Regions from separate parts of the Homo sapiens genome. Here region 1 is linked to region 2. The links are contacts of gene promoters, found by promoter capture Hi-C in blood cells and fetal thymus (Javierre and others, 2016). All regions are on one chromosome and are shown on one strand. The core of a region is centred on a gene start or on the middle of the fragment in contact, and the rest is flanking DNA. Distances in the headings are between cores, read along the strand shown. Region 1 has its middle 61 kb from the start of RASSF3-DT. Region 2 holds the start of TBK1 (TANK binding kinase 1).

Region 1 (6,208 bases), core at 3,444-5,943, 98 kb after region 2:
AATGAGGCAGGAAGATCGCTTGAGCCCTGCAGGTTGAGGCTGCAGTGAGCCATGATCACACCACTACATTCCTGCCTGGGTGACAGAGTGAGACCCTGCCTCGAAGAAAAAAGAGAGAGACCATCCTGGCTAACACAGTGAAACCCCGTCTCTACTAAAAATACAAAGAAATTAGCGGGACGTGGCAGCAGGCGCTTGTAGTCCCAGCTACTCTGGAGGCTGAGGCAGGAGAATGGCGTGAACCAGGGAGGCGAAGCTTGCAGTGAGCTGAGATTACGCCAATGCGCTCCAGCCTCCGCGACAGAGCAAGACTCCGTCTCAAAAAAAAAAAAAAAAAAAAAAAAAGAATGCCAAAAATGCCACTCCAGCACATAATTTTCTGTATATACACGCAGGTGATAATGATACGTACTTCATAAGGCATCATAAGTATTAGATTATTTCCCAAATACTTTTGCATACCCGAAGTGTGGTGCTGTAATACATTGTTTTATTTATTTATTTATTTATTTTGAGACGGAGTCTCGCTCTGTTGCCCAGGCTGAAGTGCAGTGGCGCGATCTTGGCTCACTGCAAGCTCCGCCTCCCGGGTTCATGCCATTCTCCTGCCTCAGTCTCCCAAGTAACTGGGACTACAGGCGCCTGCCACCACGCCCAGCTAGTTTTTTGTATTTTTAGTAGAGACGGGGTTTCACCATGTTAGCCAGGATGGTCTCGATCTCCTGACCTCGTGATACACCCGCCTAGGCCCCCCAAAGTGCTGGGATAAAAGGCGTGAGCCACTGCACCTGGCCAATACATTGTTTTAATAGTCTATCAAATCAGTCTACTCTTGTGAATTGATTTGATACTGCACTTAACTTTTTTTCTTATTGGCTTTAAAGGTGATGAATGATAAATGCAATGGTTCTCAAGTCATTAACAGAATTCTAAATCTTGTCAATATCTCAAGACCCAGGATTTTAGCCTTTTGGATATGTGTGTCAGCTGATTATGTAGGAGATCTCTCAACCCAATTATAATCCCCAGTGTTGTTGGCTTCAAGCACTGATAGAGCGATAAACTTCAGAAAGGTTTCAATTTGGTCCTTGAAAAGAACTATTTAAGCAGAAACTCCTAGAAGCTATAGAATTTGGCCAAGAACCACAAAAACCATTCCCTCATTCTTATTTTGCTCCCACTTTTTGATATGGAGAGGACATTGAAAGATTGTTGGGGCCAGGCATGGTGGCTCACACCTGTAATCCCAACATTTGGGAAGCCGAGGCATGTGGATTGCTTGAGCCTGGGAATTCAAGATCAGCCTGGCCAACATGGTGAACCCCGTCTCTACTAAATATTAAAAAATGAGCCAAGTGTGGTGGCACACACCTGTAATCCCTGCTACTCAGGAGACTGAGGCACGAGAATTGCTTGAACCCAGGAGGTGGAAGTTGCAGTGAGCCGAGATCACACCAGTGTACTCCAGTCTGTGTGACAGAGAGAGACTTGATCTAAAAAAAAAAAAAAAAGCCAGGCACGGTGACTCACGCCTGTAATCCCAGCACTTTGGGAGGCTGAGGCAGGCGGATCACAAGGTCAAGAGATTGAGACCATCCTGGCCAACATAATGAAACCCCCATCTCTACTAAAAATACAAAAATTAACTGGGCGTGGTGGGACACACCTGTAGTCCCAGATACTCAGGAGGCTGAGGCAGGAGAATCGCTTGAACGCAGGAGGCGGAGGTTGCAGTGAGCGGAGATCATGTCACTGCATTCCAGCCTGGCAACAGAGTGAGACTCCGTCTCAAAAAAAAGAGAAAGAAAAAAGAAGGGAAGGAAGGACGGAAGGAAGGAAGGAAGGAACTTTTCAACTATAAAATATTTTAAAACATATTTAGTTATTTGTCAGCTTTAGAGTTTGATGAAAGCTGGTATTCAGTTTCTAAATTCAATACCATGAAGAAGATGAAACTCAACTTTGATCGATTTTTCAAATCAAATTCTTCCCCCCCACAACCTTGATTCAGGATCAAATTCCTGTTGTATTGCATATATTTTTGTGATTATAAAAACAATGCATGATTATTAAAGAAACTGTGGAAAATGTAAAAAGGTTAAGAAAAACGTTAAAATTGCCTATAATCCCACCACCCAGAGAGATATAATTGCCCTTAGTATTTTAGTGTCCTTCATTCCTCTCTTTTTTCAGTGTCCATTGTCTATATGTATTTCTTCGTAAAACTGGAAATCAGTATTTGGATAGATACAGACATAGATATGTTTTCACCCTTCCTTACAATGTGACCATGTTTCCTGCCGCTCTATATTCTCTGAAAAAGTGAGCTCTAAGGTGTAATATTTATGAATCTTTCATATTGATTTAACAATTCTACTTCATATCTTTTTAAATTTTTTATTGTATTTTATTTATTTATTTTGAGACAGGGTCTCACTCTGTCGCCCAGGCTGGAGTGCAGTGGCGCAATCACAGCTCACTGCAGTCTTGATCTCCTGGGCTCAAGGGATCCTCAGCCTCCCAAGTAGCTGGGACCATGGGCAGGCACCATCATGCCCAGCTAGTTTTTTTTATTTTTATTTATTTATTTTTTTTGTAGAGAAGAGGTCTCACCATCTTGGTCAGGCTGGTCTCGAACTCCTGGGCTCAAGCTATCCTCCTGCCTTGGCCTCCCAAAGTGCCAGGATTATAGGCATGAGCCACAGCACCTGGCCAACAATTTTACTTCTTTTGGTGCATTTCTTACTGTTGAACATGAAGCTGCAACAATATCTTTGTATGAAAATCTTTTCCTACATTTCTTCTTGTTTCCTTAATACAGATTCTGAAGGAGGATTTATCGGTCAAGAGTTTTAATAGCCCTTAATACATACTGCCAACTTCTTTAATAGGAACTTCATACCAGTTTATACCCTTTCCAGCAGTTCACAAACAAACTTAGCTCACTATAAATTCATCCATAGTCTCCTGAGTAATGTATTCCACCTAAAATCTTTAAATTTTAAATCCATTTTAAAATTCAATTTTAAAGGGCTTAGTGCTTTAAGATTTGGTGGGCAGGGTGAGGGAATGATCCAGTGGTTTGATCTGTTCCAATTTTCAAATTGTCATTAGTGAAGTTAAGACTCAGAGGTTAGTAATTTTTGTAAGCCCTTGATCTGGTCTTTCTCAGAGGATGTGGACTTCACAATCAATTGTCTTCAAGGCCCTGAGAGTGGATCCTTTCCCAAGTGGGAAAGGAAAGGGAAGGTCTGAGTGAACTCCCAGAAAAGTGGGGTACGATAGCCCAACAACACTTGAATTTCTAATTGGGGTAAGGTGGGGACATAAGGGTGAAGGTGTTAGAAGAGATACTGGAAATAAGGAAAACAGTCCTAGTTATTAAAATCCCTGAGGGGTTTGACTAAATGTGGAGAGACAGACTGTTCTTCTGCCAGTTGTAGATCCTACAGAAGACCGGGTGCAGTGGTTCTGGCCTATAATCCCAACACTTTGGGGGGATCACTTGAGCCCAGAAATTTGAGAACTGCCTGGACAACATAGTGAGACCCTATCTCTAAAAAGAATTTTTAAATGTTGAAAGCTAATCAGAGGCCACAAAGTCATTCTTAAAGTCATTGTGCACTTTGCTTCCTTTGTTGTATGTTTGTTTCCTTTGTAACTGATTTACTACTTTACACACTCAGATTTTTAATTATAGCAGCAATTACTAGATTCAATGACATAAAGTTACCATTTCTGTCAGTAAAGATTCAATACCAGCTAATTTCACACAGTTCAATTTCACACCTGGGGAATTAATTATTCTTAATCATTAGGAGTCAATGGTAAAACTTTCTGATGAAAGCACCTGTAGCAAGGCCTCTACCAAGCTCCCCTCCTGTGGGGGGTGTTGACATGGCGGCCAGCAGCCAGCACAGCCTCTCTCTCCTGAGCCCCATAAGCGGAGGTAGGGATACAGTAGTTGGTGTGTTTGTGACAGCAAAGCCACCAGAGGGAGCTCTAGCATTGACTCCTATATGTTTGTCTGTGTGCCACGGATTCAAAGAAAAACAATAAATATCTAATGATTGCTTGTGTTTTTGAGCACTCCTTGCACAGTCCTAAGGTTTAGACACAATCATATCAATATCATTTCATTGTTAACATGAATTAAGCTTCTTTGTGTCTGTCAGATATTCTTTCATGCTTACCACAAGTCTATCAAGATATTATTATTCTCACTTTGATTGATGAGGGAGGTGATTAAGTTTTACAGAAATTAAGTGATTTTACAAAAGAAGAAATAACACAGAGATTTTATCTATAGTCTCAGCGCCCCCCACCCCCTTCCCACCTCCATTAAAGTTCTCCTTCCTGCCCTCTCTTTTCTCTTTTCCTACTGGGAATCTAAAGGAGATAAATCTTGCTTTAAAACTAAGGAAACAAAGAAGAATGCGTTTTATTTTGTGTAAATTATTCTTCAATATATTTAACATGTAAGGGGAAAACAAGAAAGGGAAAGGAAACGAGAAGGGGAAAGAAAGGGAGAAGAGAGAAGAGGGGAGAGGAGGAGAGGAGAGGAGAAAGAAAAGGAGAAGAGAAGAGAAAGAAAAGAAAAGAGAAATAGCCAGGCACAGTGCCCCATGCCTGTAATCCTAGCACTTTGGGAGGCCGAGGTGGGTGGATCACCTGAGGTCAGGAGTTCAAGACCAGCCTGGCCAACGTGGCGAAACCCTATCTCTACTAAAAATACAAAAATTAGCCAGGTGTGGTGGTGCACACCTGTAATCCCAGAGGCTGACGTAGGAGATTCGCTTGAACCCGGGAGGCAAGGTTGCAGTGAGCCAAGATTGTGGCACAGCACTCCAGCTTGGACAACAGAGCAAGACTCCGTCTCCAAAAAACGAAAAGAAAAAGGAGGCCAGGAGTGGTGGTGGGTGCCTGTAACCCCAGCTACTTGGAAGGCTGAAGTGGGAGAATTGCGTGAGCCCAGGAGGAGGTTGCAGTGAGCCAGGATCTAGCCACTGCAGTCCAGCCTGAGAGAGGGAGAGAGACTCCATCTCAAAAAAAAAAAAAGAAAGAAAGAAAGGAAAAAAAAAAGAGAGAAAGAGCTGATGCTCATGTCCATAAAGCCCGAAAATGTTCCAATCCTGCCGGCTCACTGCTAAGGGAATACTTCAACCCACAGCACCCCACCTCCACCCACACATTCCTTAGGCTACTGTTTCTATGACTCCTTTTCCCTCCTCAAGCTTGCCCGAGATGGCTGTTTGATCTTGGTTTCACCCTTATTCAAATTCAGAAGTAGGGGCAGAGACCAGAGGAAGATGTTAGGAATATCCATAACCCCCAAAGATGGCCACTAGACTTACTTCTACAGCACTTTACAGTACCAGACATGTACAAAGTACCTATGCACAGATTAAGAGCAAGGACGGTCAAGGTATACAGCCGCATATTTGCTGAATGGACTTAGTTAAGTCACTTAATCTCATCCATAAAATGTATGTAATAGGCGGGCACTATAACATGCAAAATGTATTTAATAGGCTCACTCCTGTAATCCCAGCACTTTGGGAGGCTGAGGCGAGTGGATCACTTGAGCCCAGGAGTTTGAGACCAGGCTGGGCAACATGGCAAAACCCTGGCTCTACAAAAAATGCCAAAAATTAGCCGGGCATGGTGGTGCGCGCCTGTAGTCCCAGCTACTTAGGAGGCTGAGGTGGGACGATCACTTGAACCTGGGAGGTTGAGGCTGCAGTGAGCCATGATCATGCCACTGCACTCCAATCTGGGAGACAGAGTAAGACCCTGTCTCAAAAATAATATGCATGTAGTAAATGTAATCATGTCTACTACTTAGCATTGCTGTGGAGATTTAATTAGGCAATGCATAGAAAAGTACTTAGCCTGGTGTTTGGTGGGAAACTTCAATTAATGTTAACTAATATTATTGTTTTCTTTAATACTCACAACAATCGTATTTGTCCATTTAGCCTAGAACTTGGCATAGACACATGGTTTGTAAGCGTGTTTGTGGTTAACAGCAGTCTTCAGTTAAAGAGAGGCGAACCAACTTGCCAAAGGTCCACAGCTAGTTTTACAACTACGAAATGTTTTCCAAAATATTTTCAGTTTTTCTGTGAGACTGAGAGATATTATCTTCAAATAGATTACGAGATGTGCACAGCAACGTCCACCCGCCTTACACAAGAGCAAACAGCTT
Region 2 (6,361 bases), core at 2,360-4,859:
AGACACAAAGTATGGGGGAAGACAGCAATCAAAACTAACTTTTTGTAGATAGCCATTTCATTTCTTTAAACTGTTTCAACGCCAATATGTATTCTACAAAAGAGAATGGTTTTAGGCTCCAGTGTTATACTTTTTTTTATATATATATATAAAAATAAACTTTACGTAGTGAAATCTTCCAAGTCTTTTCTGGAATTATTATAAATACTTTAGTTTTATTTTCTCATCTTAATCTCTCCATAATTTCCCATTTAAAGGTTTACAAATATGAGTGTGTGGATGCTTTAATTCATTTAACCTCACTCCTCAAAGGTAACATGCAACTTAGTTCTGTTATATGAGAGTCTTTTTCTTTAATGTACTGGAAAAAGCCTATGTGAATCTGTTGATAGAATTTAAAATTCCAGGCCGGGCGTGGTGGCTCACGACTGTAATCCCAGAACTTTGGGAGGCCAAGGCAGGTGGATCACTTGAGGTCAGGAGTTCGAGACTAGCCTGGCCAACATGGTGAAACCCCATCTCTACTAAAAATACAACAGCCAGGTGTGATGGTGCACGCTCGTAATCCCGGCTACTCAGGAGGCTGAGGCAGGAGAATCGCTTGAACCCGGAAGGCAGAGGTTGCAGTGAGCTGAGATTGTGCCACTGCACGCCAGCCTGGGCAAGAGAGTAAGACTCTCTCTCAAAAAAAAAAAAAAAGAATTTAAAATCCCAATTTATTTTCTAACTCTTTTATTGGATGTATTTAGAACACAGTATACCTATAGTATACCTATGTGTTTATTATGTTTGTAAATGGTAACTGACATTTAATTATTAGAAGTACTTACCCCTGCCTTCCTCCATTTTTATTCATGGCTACTTGAGAAAGCAAAAGGAAAAAATAATAGTTATCAGTAGTGTCACTGGAAAGAAGAGAGGAGGGACAAAACTGAGCAGCAGAATTCGTATAGACATTTACGTTTAAATTCTAAAAGCCCAATTGAGATGTTCAGGGAGGGTTTGTTTTGCCCTTTGGCCTCATGAATGGGTTTCATGAATGGGCTTCAGTGGCTTATAAACTCTGTAAAATTCTATTCTAAATTTTGTACATTTATTTTGTTCCGGTTAATTCCAGAAGACATTTCAAACATTTTTCTTACACCATATAATAAAAATACTTAACTAAATTGACAGTTATAAAAATAAATCAGTGAAATGTACCTTATACTTTAATAAAAAATGTTTTCAGAAATAGATAAGTGAAAGCTGAGTGTTTCTTTGATAGGTTCCCCTGTACTATAGGAGTGATAATTGCAGCTATTGCAATAGTAGTAATTGTTAAATGGATACTAATGAATAGCATAGCATAGTGGGTAAGAGTTTATATAGCACAGGCTCTAGAATCAGATTAAGTAGGTTCAAATACCAGTTCTGCCAGTAACTGGTTTTAGAACCTTGGGCAAGTTAAAGAATGTCTCCCAGCCTCAGTTTCCCTATTTGTAAAATGGAAATAATGGTAGCTACCTCAAACCTCATTACGAATTCAATGAGTTAAACTTGAAAAGACTTATTACAGTAGCTGGCACATAAAGACTTGATAGTAGTTTATATGGATGCTATCTCATATTAGCATATATGGAATTAATAGTGTATCACTATACTTTTTTTTTCTTTTTTTTTTTTGAATAGAGATCAGTCTATCACCCAGGCTGGAGTGCAGTGGTGACATCATAGCTCACTGTAACTTCTCCCATACTCTACCAATCCTCCTGCCTCAGCATCCAGACTAGCTGTGATTACAGGTGTGCACCACCACACCCAGCTACATTTTTTTTTGGTAGAGACAGGGTCTCACTATGTTACCCAGTCTGGTCTCAAACTCCCGGCCTCAAGCAATCCTCCCACTGGCCTCACAATGTTGGGATTACAGGTATAAGCCACTGCACACGGCCTTACTATGCTATCAATTCCATATATGGAAAGGTGTTTTCCCTTTCAGAGCTCTTTAAAGCTCTGCAGAAGATTTACATGTGTTTATAGAGCTAAGAGAAATCAGGGCATGGAAATTGAGTGTGTAATAAAAATTAAACTCTTCATGTTATATAATCATGCATAACTTCTATCTTCATTCTCTGAAGTTGCCTAGAGCACCATCACAGCTAGGAAGCTTCCATCATGAATTACCTTATTTCCAAAAGCAAGTACTCAAATAATTGTCTCAAGAGAGGAAGGACAAAACTGTTACAAGCTGAAATATTTGGGGATTTGTTTGACTTGACTAGGGAACCACAAGTTTTCATATAATGCCTGATTTAGCCCTGTGCCTAACAGTTTAAATCTTAATGCTAATGTTAATTGCTTCCCAGTTGGTTGACCTTATAAGAAAACACTGTGTGGTATTTTAATGTGGTAAACATGTGAATGAAGGCCTGTGGCTCAGTTAATCACTCCCACAACTTTGAGCTGTGAGTTTTACTGGTGGAAGGAACTTTAACAGGTCTTCGCTCTTGTCATTAGATATCAAAGAACTGAAATTAGTTGGAATTGTAAGCAGTGAATAGATGTGTTGTTAGAATGATTCCATCACTTATACATTGTTTAAAATGCTAATAAAGTAACTTGCTTTGTAAGAATTCATTAGAGTGGACTTTTGTTATCTCCATTGTGCATTTGATAAAACTGAGGCTTAGAGAGGTAAGAGATTAGCTTTTAAGTCAGTAATTGGCAGCCGAGACAGCAACCCTAGGTCTGTTACATTCAAAAGCCTCTGAGCCACTCCGCATGACTTCCCATTCATTCGTGTTTGCTGCTGCTACTCTGGGAAACACCATCTTCCTCTTCCCCTCCACTCAGAAATTTAGCCCTAGATTAGCAGCGGTCTCTGCTCCCTCATGTTGAGAAAGGCCTGTTGTGCTGTCCGTGGGCAGAAGGGACCCCTTCAGAAAGCTATTCCTTATTGGGAATAGCGGCTTGAGATTTTGACTGCACGAATATTGCAGGACCTAATTTTAGTATTTAAGTTTTAGTTCTTAAATTCTTAAGTTTAGAGTTAGATACTCCAATACGGCCGTTTTCCAAAATACCGAGAGGGAATTAAATGAACATTTTTACATTAAGAATTTAATGTATTTCTGGGTGATGGGAAAATGAAAAAAACAATGTAAAGTCTGAATTACTGCGAGACGATAATCTGGCTCCACTGCAGCCAAAGTGGGCCCTTAAAACATAGAATCCATCCCTCCCAGCTCTGCCGGCCGTCTGTGCCTGCCCCCCACGTGTCCCACGTTCTGCACACCTGTAAATCTTGGGATGTAATCCCTTGCTCAGCGTCGGTCCGCCCTACTGTCGGCCAGCGCTCGGGGAAGGGGCGGGATTTGCAGTTGCGGGAATCCCAATTACTGTGTTCGCTGCTCAGGGCTCCTCATTCCCCTTTAGAGTAAAGGGCGAGGGCAACAGTGGACGGGGTGTCTCCAGACATCCCCCTCATTACCGTGGCCGCGGAAGCCGACTCGGCAGTTGCCGCCGCGGCTGTGGTGACTACCAGACGGGCCATAGGCGTGCGCACGCGCACCCGCACCGGCGCGCCGGCCGTCGGTCACGTGGCCTCCGGCCAGGGCTTGCGAAGCCGGAAGTGTCCTGAGTCTCGAGGAGGCCGCGGGAGCCCGCCGGCGGTGGCGCGGCGGAGACCCGGCTGGGTAAGTGAGACGGCCGCGGGCTGAGGGGCCAAGGCGGCGCGGGGCGCGGTCGGTCAGGCCTGCGCCGCCCGGCGGGGAGCGCTCCCGCCCCCTGTGGGAGGCTGGGATGCTGAGTCAGAGCGGGGGCGGGGGCGGGCGCACCGAGAAGCCCCGGACGACCCGAGGCCAAGCCATCCAGGACCCCGGCTGCGTGGACACTGCCTCTGGGGTGTGTGTCGGGTGGCCGTAGCCGGTGGAATGGTCGCGCGGGCCCTGTTACCTGCATCCCCGCTCCGCGCCGCGCGGCCGGTCCTCGACCTGCATCCCGTCCGGCGGCTTTGGGCATAAAGAGGACGACTCCGTTACCGGGCCTGGGCCCTGGCTGCCTGGGGAGGCAGGGGCACCTCTTTCCCTTAGACTCGCTGTTTTCTACCCTCTTTCCGAGCGTCGACACAACGGGCAGTTTTTAAATGTATTGATTTTTCAGAGGATTAAAAAGAGACGTTTCCTTAGAGTTTTAGTGATGTTCAGTCCGCAGAGGTTGACTCACACCGGAAATTAGAAGCATAAGATGTTTTAAATATATGCCGATGAAATACGAATTCCCAGACATTTCCTTGCTCCTCGTCTACCTGGCTTATGGGTTTAATTTGTAATCTCTATCCCAAGTATTCTTAGTAGGTGGCCTCAAAACAACTCCCAAGTAATTGCCAAATGTATAACCAAAGACTGGTCTTTTCCACTCTGAAACCCCAGTGTATGAATCACATAGGGGCAGAGTTTAGAAATCCTGGAACTTTGTCCATAGGCCATGTCGTCAAACCTGTTTTCATCCCTCAACAAATAGTAACTTTCGTTTTGGACGGTGTAAGGAAGTAGGCTGAAGACGGCATCATCAGCAACATAGTTGTTGAGTGTCTGCTTATATGCTTGTCAAAAATTTGGGAAGATTTATATGGCAAGCACGTTGTGGGTGTGCTGAGTCATGTTTTAACATGTTATTGTGGAGTTATTGGAAGATAATTTCAAAAGACATTTCCCCTGACCACTATTGTGATTACTGTTAAATAGAAACCATAGTTTTGTATTTGCATAGAGAACAGATATCTTAGCTGATAAATATTTTTCTTATTATCCTGAAGGTACATACATATAGGTACCTAATGGTACTATTTGCCATTTACAGTTACATTGATTAGGGAAGGTTTTTCGTTAGATAGTTGAGACGTTTGTTATTGTATCGTGAGTGAAATGTAATGACTGGCAAATGTGTATTCCTTATTTGTGAAAAGGGAATCTTATTTTTATTGCTTATTTCCTATAGTCGTATATAAAGTTTATCTAAATTAGATGGGTAGTAAAATTATATAAAAATATCCTACTATATCAGTGATTGGTAAAATTGAGACCCCTGACCATTCTGCATTTTCCTAACCCAGCTTGGGGATATTGGTGGTCATTAATTCATCACAGAATACCTAGTCTAGCATACTACTTTTTGCTTTAACTTACTGTGGAGGGATATTAAAATCCATGTTTTAATGACAATACAGCAGGTTTAAGGGGGCATGGTGGGACTAGTGTTTATGTTATGTTAGCATACATCAATTTTAGTCCAGTGTGGAGCTTGGATACTTTGTATACCTTGATAGATCCATAGCTTTTCAGTATTAAAGACTTGATAATACAGGCTACTTGGTACGTTTATATATTTATACTTGGAGGTTGGAGAAACTATCCTTAAATTAATTCCAGAAGAGTTCGTAACTTTTCAGGAATAATAATTTTTGCACCTTTCCTTTATGTTTGTCAGGTTCTGTGTAGATTGTGTAGATAAAATTTTAGCTTATGGGAATATTATGCAGTGACAACATTTGTCTTCATTAGTGTTTCTCTGCTCTGAAGGAAACAAAGTAATTTTTCCTATATTTGTTATATTTTACATTATTACTTTTCTTTATTTTAAAACACCTTAAATTATGTCATAAATTAATCTTTCAAAACATTTGAAGGAGGTAAGTAACAATATCACTCTCATCAACAAAGACAAAATTAGAAGAGAAATAGGTGTTGTTTTTGTTTGTTTTTGTTTCTTTTTGAGATGGAGTCTCGCTCTGTCACCCTGGCTGGAGTGCAGTGGTGCGATCTCAGCTCACTGCAACCTCTGCCTCCTGGTTTCAAGCAATTCTTCTGCCTCAGCCTCCCGAGTAGCTGGGATTACAGGCATGCGCCACCACGCCTGGCTAATTTTTTTGTATTTTTAGTAGAGGCGGGGTTTCTCCATATTGGCCAGGCTGGTCTCGAACTCCTGACCTTGTGATCCGCCCGCCTCGGCCTCCCAGAGTGCTGGGATTACAGGCATGGGCCACTGCACCCGGCTGAGAAATAGATGTTTCTTTCAGCCCTGTGTTAAGTGAATTAAATTGAATGTATGTCATTGGTTAATGTTTTTTTTTTCAAAGCTCATACAGCATTTTAGCCTTGAATATTGCTAGAAACTCAGATCTTTTTTTTTTTTTTTTTTTTTTGAGACGGAGTCTCGCTGTGTCACCCAGCCTGGAGTGCAGTGGCGCGATCTCGGCTCACTGCAAGCTCCGCCTCCCGGGTTCCCGCCATTCTCCTGCGTCAGCCTCCCGAGTAGCTGGGTCTACAGGCGCCCGCCACCATGCCCGGCTAATTTTTTTGTATTTTTAGTAGAGACGGGG

What was found. Contacts are between HindIII fragments. The CHiCAGO score rates a contact against its expected background, and 5 or more counts as called.
Region 1: a fragment that was not itself captured here is called in contact with the fragment with the promoter of TBK1 in region 2 in 3 of 17 cell types (activated CD4 T cells, non-activated CD4 T cells and total CD4 T cells); the score reaches 6.1 in activated CD4 T cells.

What each region holds. Positions count from the first base shown.
Region 1 is chr12:64,545,776-64,551,983 of GRCh38, forward strand. It overlaps a transcript of RASSF3 not described here. Among named protein-coding and RNA genes, the nearest start is that of RASSF3-DT, 61 kb to the right of the region's middle. RefSeq lists an enhancer at 3,828-3,877. The HindIII fragment of the contact is 1,077 bases long and covers 4,156-5,232 here.
Region 2 is chr12:64,448,511-64,454,871 of GRCh38, forward strand. It overlaps TBK1 (TANK binding kinase 1), which reads left to right and starts at 3,610. Exons shown (of 21, transcript NM_013254.4): 1 at 3,610-3,677. XPOT (exportin for tRNA) reads left to right here. Exons shown (of 25, transcript NM_007235.6): 25 at 1-2,615. RefSeq lists a silencer at 3,481-3,950. The HindIII fragment of the contact is 9,573 bases long and covers 2,148-6,361 here.